Regions from separate parts of the Homo sapiens genome. Here region 1 is linked to region 2. Evidence: promoter capture Hi-C in human tissues and cell types (Jung and others, 2019). All regions are on one chromosome and are shown on one strand. The core of a region is centred on a gene start or on the middle of the fragment in contact, and the rest is flanking DNA. Distances in the headings are between cores, read along the strand shown. Region 1 overlaps AIF1L (allograft inflammatory factor 1 like). Region 2 holds the start of EXOSC2 (exosome component 2).

The links. The method cuts DNA at HindIII sites, captures the fragments that hold promoters and counts their contacts. A contact is called where the count stands out against the background at its distance.
Region 1: a fragment that was not itself captured here is called in contact with the fragment with the promoter of EXOSC2 in region 2 in 1 of the 25 tissues and cell types used here (hippocampus).

Annotation. Positions count from the first base shown.
Region 1 is chr9:131,119,217-131,123,624 of GRCh38, reverse strand. It overlaps AIF1L (allograft inflammatory factor 1 like), which reads right to left. Exons shown (of 6, transcript NM_031426.4): 6 at 481-3,390. The coding sequence ends at 3,303. Among named protein-coding and RNA genes, the nearest start is that of NUP214, 4.2 kb to the left of the region's middle. The HindIII fragment of the contact is 3,884 bases long and covers 182-4,065 here.
Region 2 is chr9:130,690,798-130,695,029 of GRCh38, reverse strand. EXOSC2 (exosome component 2) reads right to left here and starts at 1,250. Exons shown (of 9, transcript NM_014285.7): 1 at 1,117-1,250. The coding sequence starts at 1,238. RefSeq lists an enhancer at 998-1,187. The HindIII fragment of the contact is 7,301 bases long and covers 1-4,232 here.

The DNA.
Region 1 (4,408 bases), core at 874-3,373, 430 kb before region 2:
TCTCCTGCCTCAGCTTCCCAAGTAGCTGGGACTACAGGCGGCCGCCACCACGCCCGGCTAATTTTTTGTATTTTTAGTAGAGACGGGGTTTCACCGTGTTAGCCAGGATGGTCTCCATCTCCTGACCTCGTGATCCGCCCACCTCAGCCTCCCAAAGTGCTGGGATTACAGGCGTGAGCCACCGCGCCCGGCCGACAGAGGTTCTTAACTTGGACCTCATGGGTTGGCTCCAGGGGGGTCGGATTGTGCCATTTACTGTTTGGCTTGCAGCACATTGCTTATTCAAGCCTACTTTTCAGTTGTGAAACAAGGATGACATAATAGAACCTGTCTCTTGCAGGGAGGTGGTTAGGATAAGTGAATTTCAGCTGTCTCAGACAAAAGGCACAGGACATGCTCATTTAATCTCTTACTATATTAGCTAGTTCGCAATTTGCTGAGCCCAGAACCAGCCCCAAAATACACCAATCAAGACGTTGGTAAGTTTGTCTGGTTTATTTGCAGGCTGTAGAGATGATATCCCAGTCCACGCACACTCCCATGCACACGCACACACATACTTCATCCACCTGAATTTGCCCGACAAACCCTCCTCTGAGTCATAGGGACAAAGCCATACTTGGCAGTCCTCACGTTACTGGTTACATTAGATTTGGTCTTTCAGAAAGAAGATGGTTGAAGTCCCAAGAAGCTGAGCCCTTAGCCAGAGAAGTAAGAGTCCTAGAACCAAGAGCCACAACCTGAAATAGATGCAGACTGCCCCCGCCCTCCTTCCAGGGACAACTCTTGAGACCCTCTCCTCCCAGGAGTTGAGTCTCAAGAAATGAAGGGACTGATGGGGTTTCCCAGGACACACGAGCCCCCACCCCCATTCAATGAGAAAACCCTCTCTTCTGCCATTTCCAGAAGCTGGGGCCACACCTGCTTGCTCTCCTCCCTTAAGGAGAATTCCTGCAGTCTTGTAGAACTGTGGAACTTACTGAAATAAGCCTGACTGGTTCTGCCTTCCTCTCTGAGTGAGGAACAGGGACACTGAATATGATGGGTAGTGAAGGAAGGCTTTATCTTCCTCAAAGGTCCCAGCCTGTCCCAGAGAGGAGAGGCAGTGAGGAGGGGTGAGGACATCTAATGATCTTGGGGAAAAAAAAAACAAAAAACAGGGCAGGGTGGGGGTAGAAGTAGGATTTTCCATTTACAGGGAGGAATGTTTTGCTGGGGTTTAAACTTCAACTAGGCCTGTGTGCATTTGAAGCAGATCCTTGAGCTCAAGATCAGCCAGTCATGGCCAAATAACCTCATTCCTGAACTGGTTGAAACCAGTGGGTTAACCCAACCTGGCCATTTCCTCATGCCTTACCTGTTTTCCTCCCTCAATCTGCTATCAGAGGTGACTAAGGAGCCGCAGGGAACCCACGTTGGCTCCAACCACCAAGACCTCCCAGTCCTGTCCACTTAAGGTGTTGCAAAGGCTCTGCCAAGACTCTCACCCAGTCTTGGGCCCATCTAGGCCCCCAGGACTGCAGGGAAGTCACCCCATACCTCCCCCTTCCTAACATTTATCTCATTGTCATTGTCTGGGTCTCACTTTCCTATTGGACTCTAAGTTCCATGAATCTGTCCATTTCATTATTGGATTCTTAACTGTTGGCCTACAGCAAGTGCTTAATAAATATGTTCAGTGAATAACTGTCTCAGTCCTGAGCAGGTAGGGTAAGAGACTTCAGAACACAGGTGGGGTTAAGGCTGAACACCCTGATCAGCCAAGATGGGGCTGACTTTGACATCTTCCTGCATGAATTACAAGAGGCAGCTTCAGAGGCCTGGTCTTTGCCCTAAGCCTGATGCTGACTTGAAGGCATGGGAGAGGGCGAATCCTGGACCAGGGTCTTCAGAGCAAGTGAAACCCTCTCCAAGTGTTGACCTTGGAGGCTGTCTCTTCCCAGCCCTTCCCTGTTCTCATAACTAACTAAGGCAGCCCACACTGGAAATGAGGTGTAGGCAGGGTCCCTGAACATCTGGGCCCCAGTCCAGGGCACCTCCCTCTGGAGATAAGCCTGACCTTGGGCAAGGCACTTAATCCCTGTGGGGCACCAGTCTCCTCACCTGTGAAATGAGAAGTCTGGCCCAGCTACCCTCCAGGGTGCATTAGGGTTCTAAAATCCTGCGAGTCCATAAGAAAGGACACAGGTGACCCCAGTTCAATTCCCAAGCTCAAGGTTCTGAGAGATCTGGGGAGAGATGAGTTAGACCGTGTATACTGCACATGCCAGGACAACATGGGAGGATGTAAAGCTTATAATAGCAGGTCAATAAATATCTGGTGAATGAGTGAGTCAATGAGTGAATTATGTGAGTAGGGTAGGAAGACAAATGAGAGAAGCAGAGTCAGGTTTCAAGCAGATTGGGGTCAGACAAGCAACCTTGTATTTCTCAGTCTTGGCTTACCAGTGCTGCTGACTTTGCCGTGAGCATTTTACTCCTCATTCTCCCATCCTGGTCCCCTCAGTAACCTCCCTAAAAGGTGGAACAGCACTGAGCTGACCTTTCCCCCAAAACCCCAGGCCTCACTTCTGCCTCCGAAGCCCTCTGCTGCCCCAGTAAGGGACAGTAGGGCTGCACGCTGCCTCTCAGCTGCCTGCACAGGTGTGGCCAGAGAGCAGGACTGGAGGGTTCCTTCTGGTACCTTCTTGAAGGGCTCCCAATGCCAAGCTCCTTTCCTTCCCACCTTCACATCACTGAGGATGAGAAGAGGTGTGGAATGAGTGGGGATCAGCTGGGGCAGCGGGGCCCCGAGTGGCTGTGTCCTGGGTGACACCAGAGCACTGGAGCCATGGCACTGTCCAAGGAAACCCGAAAGAGGCCCTGCAGCCTTGTCCCTACTCCAAGGTCTTCTCAGAGTGGCCTGGGGTCCTCGTCAGAGCCAGGTCAGTGAGCCTGAACTTGGCTTGGAGACTTTCTGAAAGGATGGAGAGTGCTGGTTCCTCCAAGTGAGGGGAACACAGGCTGGAAGCCTCCCTGCCCTGGCCCTGCCCCCTCTAGTTTTTGGTTTGATGTCAGCCCTTCTGCACAGGGAGCGGGGAAGGAGGGAAGAAGAGAGGGAGGGGACCCAAGGCTCAGGATTCCCCGACCCAGAGCCCCTTTAAGGCAGATAATTTGTGCTTTACAAAGACATTGATGAAAACACAAACAAACCCTCAATGACCAAACAAATGAGAGAGAGAGAGATCACAGTGTGTCAAGAAGGGCAGCAAGATCGGGAGGGAGGTATGGGGTGGGAAGGCTGGGGAGTCCAGGCGGGGTCCTCAGGGCAGGCTAGCAATGTCTCTCTCTGGAGGGGGGCCAACTGGCTTGGGGCTGCTCTCGTTGGCTTTTCCTTCAAACATCATGACTCTGGTTTGGAGATGGAGAAAAGAAAAAAAGAAAGAAAAACAAGATTAGGATCCTTCCCTCATCCAGGGAAAGATCATCCCAGCCTCATGTCAGCAGGGTCCTCAACAGAATTTAAATCTGTTCTCCAGTGGGATCCTTGCAGAAGCCCAAGACAGCAGCTCCAAGGAAGGGGCTGCTAGTCCCATTTTACAGAGGAGAAAATGGAGGCGCAAAGTGGTGATATGACTCCTCAGAACCACACAGGCGGTCCAGGGCAGAGGCTGGGTACGACTCCAGGCTTCTGACTTCCAGGCCATACCCTTCCCTTAACCACACTGCCTGGAGGAGGCTGAGCCAGGCTGGGCCACGCCTCTGCGCAAAGATCTTCAAAAACCTGCCCACTGCTCTGAGAGTGGTGTCTGGGGAGTAGAGGGTAGGGGCTCAGCGTATAACCTCTAGGGCAACTGCCTAGATTCAAATGCCAGCCCTGCTACTTCCCAGCCGGGTGGCTCAAGCAAGACACTTGACCTCTCTGATCCTTGGCGTTTCTCCCTGGAAGTGGGGTGCTAGAAGATCTGGCCAGATTGGACCGTGGGCTCATGGGCCAGGTACTCAGTCTCCTTGGGCCTCAACAAGCTCCTTTGTAAAATGAGACAGGTATATTTTACATTCGTACTTTAAAAAAGTGAATCTTATTTCATAAAAGCCAAGTAAGTGTTATTTTCTGTTTTCTTTTTTTTTTTTTTTTTCTTTTGAGACAGAGTTTTGTTCTTGCCGCCCAGGCTGGAGGGCAATGTCACGATCTCTGCTCACTGCAACCTCCGCCTCCTGGGCTCAAGTGATTCTCCTGCCTCAGCCTCCCGAGTAGCCAGGATTACAGGCGTGAGCCACAACACCCAGCTAATTTTTGTATTTTTAGTAGAAACGGGGTTTCACCATGTTGACCAGGCTAGTCTCGAACTCCTGACCTCAGGTGATCCACCGGCCTCAGCCTCCCGAAGCGCTGGGATTAAAGGCGTGAGCCAGGGCACCTGGCAGA
Region 2 (4,232 bases), core at 1-2,500:
TCTTAAGATTTCCTAGGGGCCAGGCATGGTGGCTCATGCCTGTAATCCCAGCACTTTGGGAGGCCGAGGCGGGCAGATCACACTTGAGGTCAGGGGATCGAGACCAGCCTGGCCAACACAGTGAAACCCTGTCTCTACTAAAAAAAAAAAAAACCAAAAATTAGCTAGGCATGGTGGCGTGCACCTGTAATCCCAGCTACTCAGGAGGCTGAGGCAGGAGAATCACTTGAACCCAGGAGGCAGAGGTTGCAGTGAGCCGAGATCGCACGACTGATCTAAGACAGACTCCGTCTCAAAAAAGAAAAAAAAATTTCCTGGTATCCACTAACCTTAAACTAACAGGTTAAAGGGCAATGCTATGAATGCTGTGCCCCTTGTACATATACAAGTAAAAAAATAATAATAATAAAGGTTGAAACACTAGTGTTATCTATGATGATATAATGGCTGGTTTTACTTCTTTTCTTACATAATTGTCTCATTTAATCCTCATTACCGTATCATACTGTTATTATCACTATCTTACAGATGAGGAAACTGACCGTGGAGAGGCAATGCCGCTAATAAGATGTGATGGTAGCAGGACCGGAACCCCAACTGTCTGACTCAAGAGCCTTCCCTCTTAACCACAATACACTGCACTACACCCCTTAGATTCAAAATGTGTATAAATGGGTGCATGCAGCACAATGTAACTGTTTGCCCTAAGATCGAACAATTACGGATTCTAAACTGAAGAGGAGGCAGCCAAGAACGCCCACCGTCCCCTCAGAGAGCTGAAAACTGGAAAAGAGCCTGCACCTAACCCTCCCCAGCTTTCCAGGTCTCCCACAAGGAAGGATCAAAGATTTGGACTTCAGGCAGAAGACCCAAAAGTCACAGCCACCGGAGGTCAGGAGTGGAGGGTTTCAGGGAGCTGAGACAAATGCAGACGGGGACACACAAGATGCAGGGAGCAAGAAGCACGAGGCTCGGAAGCGAGGTGTGTAGGATGCTCAGACGAAGTGCCCTGGGTCCCGCGGGGAGTTACACACACAGGGATACGAGGCCTGGACCACGTGCAGAGAGCCCTGAAGCCGCTCTCTGAAGCCTCGACTCCCCCAAGTCCCCACGTACCGCATGAATCCTGTGTCCGTAGTGATTGTATCCCCCGGCACCACTAGATGTTTCTTAGTGTCGCGGCCCAGTCTCTCGCTAAGAGGCTTGCGAGCCACTGGAAGCCTCATCTCCATCGCCATCTTGGCGCCAATGAGTTGCGCAGGCGCAGCTCAGTCGGGAGCTGCGATATCCGACTCCACAACTCCAGGCCGCGTTCGGAGGGGCGGGGAAGGGCGGGGACTCAGAGCAGCTGCCAATGAGAACTCACGGCCTAGAGGCCATGTTTACAATTGGCAACAATAAGGCGAACCCGAAGGGAAGGGAGCCGAGCTGCCATGTCTACTATTGGCAAGGAAGCACCCGTGGAATAATAAAATCTCACGTTGTGTGGCGTGTGACTTTTTACCAAAACTGTCTTGTACTCATCATCCCATTTATTGTTTACCAGGGTTAGAGATAATTGAGAAACGGACCTCTGAGTTTCTGTCCAATTCTAAGCTGCTGAAATCCGATATTTTGTAAGAGAGAGCTCAGGAGGATGGAGAGATGGGATCTACAGAAAACACTATTTGAACAGAAAGAAGAGCCCCTTTCCACACGGTTCCCAGTAGCGCCAGGATTCTACATTGCGGCCGCCCCGTGGGTGCTGGCTCAACATCATCATCTATAACCCCAAACCGGGCTCCAGATACTTCTCACTTGGTTCTGTCCTTTCATAAGGACTCCTTTGAACAAGCTAATTTACTCCAATATTTCTTTTGGAAACAAGTTAAAAATCGTCTAAGAAAACAGGTCAAACCTTGCAAGCCAGGTATATTTGGTAGGGAAGGGAAGAGCACACACAATGCGAAGATCTTGGCTTGCATTTAGTTACACAGCGAGTTGAGCGCTCTCTGTGTGCCAGGCGCTGTTCTAAGGACTCAGCGGGGAACAGACGGATGTCTCTGTGGGTTTTTCTGCGGCTCCGTTTTAATAGGAGGGTACCCCTCGCCCCTTCTCCCCGTCCCCCACTACCCTCTCCCTCTCCTTGCCCTGCATTCACAAGAAACTAATTGGGGATGGTAACTCCCCATGCACAGGGACTCTAAAGACGATTAAATGAAATCATTGGCATCAGCTGTGGTCAGTAAAGCCGGTAAACCAAGTCCGCCTCCTGAAGAAAGATCCATCGAGCCAATTGTTTTATAAATCTCCAAAGCGACAGCATTTCTTCCACTTAAGCAAGTCTCACGACCACACTTAAGAAAGCCAGCCCTGCCAGGCAGTCGATGACATGAATGCTAGTGCCCCGAGGCCCTGGGTAAGCGGGCTGCCAGACCCTCGCCCTCTGCCGTGCCTGGAGGAAGGCACTAGAGCCCAGCCCCTCGGTCCAGTCCTGCCGCGGCCATAAGAGGGCGATGGTGTCCTCTGAGCTCGCGTAGCCCGGCAGCCGGGGAGCCAGGCCCAGCGAGCGGCCCTAGGCGGAGCGAGAGTGTAGGCCTGACACCATCCAAGTTCTTCCCGGGAGGGAGAGACGTCGCCTTTACCCCGCGCATTCTCACAGCGTTCACAAGGTTGGCATTGTGGATACCAGTTTATGGAGGAGGAAATCGAGGCCCCAAAAGGAATGGAATTCACATTAGCAGATGGCTGCAAAGCCGATGTGTGTTCCAACTGCACGCGATTTACCCCAGAGCCTGCACCCTTTACCAGAAATAGCCCGAGTGCTTCGGCTGGTCCTTTGCTGAGTGCTTTACAAATACTATGTTATGTATTCCTCACTTTCAGCCCATCTTCGAGATAGGCATTGCTATCCCTGATGATCACTTGGGGCCACCGAGCCCCCCAAACAGACCCGTAACTGGGACTAGAATCCAAAACGACAGGGACTCCCCCTCTCCCATCCCCAGTGCTCCTCTTTCTGCATCATCACACGCACCTTTTTTTATTTTTATTTTTTTCGAGACAGAGTCTTTGTCACCCAGGCTGGAGTACAATGACACGATTATGGCTTACTGCAGCCTCGTCCTCCTGGGCTCAGGTAATCCTACCACCTCAGCCTCTTGAATAGCTTGGACTACAGGCACATGCCACCAGGCTCGGCTAATTTTTTGTATTTGTCTTGTGAAGACAGGGTTTCACCGTGTTGCCCAACCTGATCTCGAACTCCTAAACTCAAGTGATCCGCCCACCTTGGCCTCCCAAAGTGCTGGGATTACAGGCATGAGCCACCAAGCCCGGCCACACTTACCCCTTTACGACCAGTAGACAAGTGGGTACCCGGAGACGAAGCAGCACATCCCAGGGGGCTTGTAAAAAGTATAGATTCCTTAGGCATTGAGGCTGTAAACCCCGAATATCTGAGACAGGTCTCAGTTAATTTAGAAAGTTTATTTCACCAAGATTGAGGATGTGCCTGTGGCACAAGCTCAGGAGGTCCTGACAACCTGTGCCCAAGGTGGTCGGAGCGCAGTTTGGTTTTATACATTTTGGGGAGACATGAGGCATCAATCAACATATGTGAGATGAATATTGGTTCGGTCTGGAAAGGCTGGACAACTCGAAGCTGGGAAGGGGCTTCCTGGTGATAGGTAGATAAGAAACAAATGGTTGAGGCCAGGCGCGGTGGCTCACGCCTGTAATCCCAGCACTTTGGGAGGCCGAGGTGGGCGGATCACGAGGTCAGGAGATCGAGACTACCCTGGCTAACACGGTGAAACCCCGTCTCTACTAAAAATACAAAAAAAAAAAAAAAAAAAAAATTAGCCGGGTATGGTGGCTGGTGCCTGTAGTCCCAGTTACTCGGGAGGCTGAGGCAGGAGAATGGCTTCAACCCGGGACGCGGAGTTTGCAGTGAGCCGAGATCGCACCGCTGTACTCCAGCCTGGGCGACAGAGTGAGACTCCGTCTCAAAAAAAAAAAAAAAAAAAAAGAAAGAAAAAAGAAACAAATGGTTGCATTTTTTGTATTTTTAGTTTCTGATTAGCGTCTCCAAAGGAGGCAATCAGGTATGCATTTATCTCAGTGAGCAGAGGGGTGACTTTGAATAGAACGGGAGGCAGGTTTGCCCTAAGCAGTTCCCAGCTTGACTTACTTTTCCCTTTAGCTTAGTGATTTTGGGGCCCCAAGATTTATTTGCCTTTCACAAGGCTCTG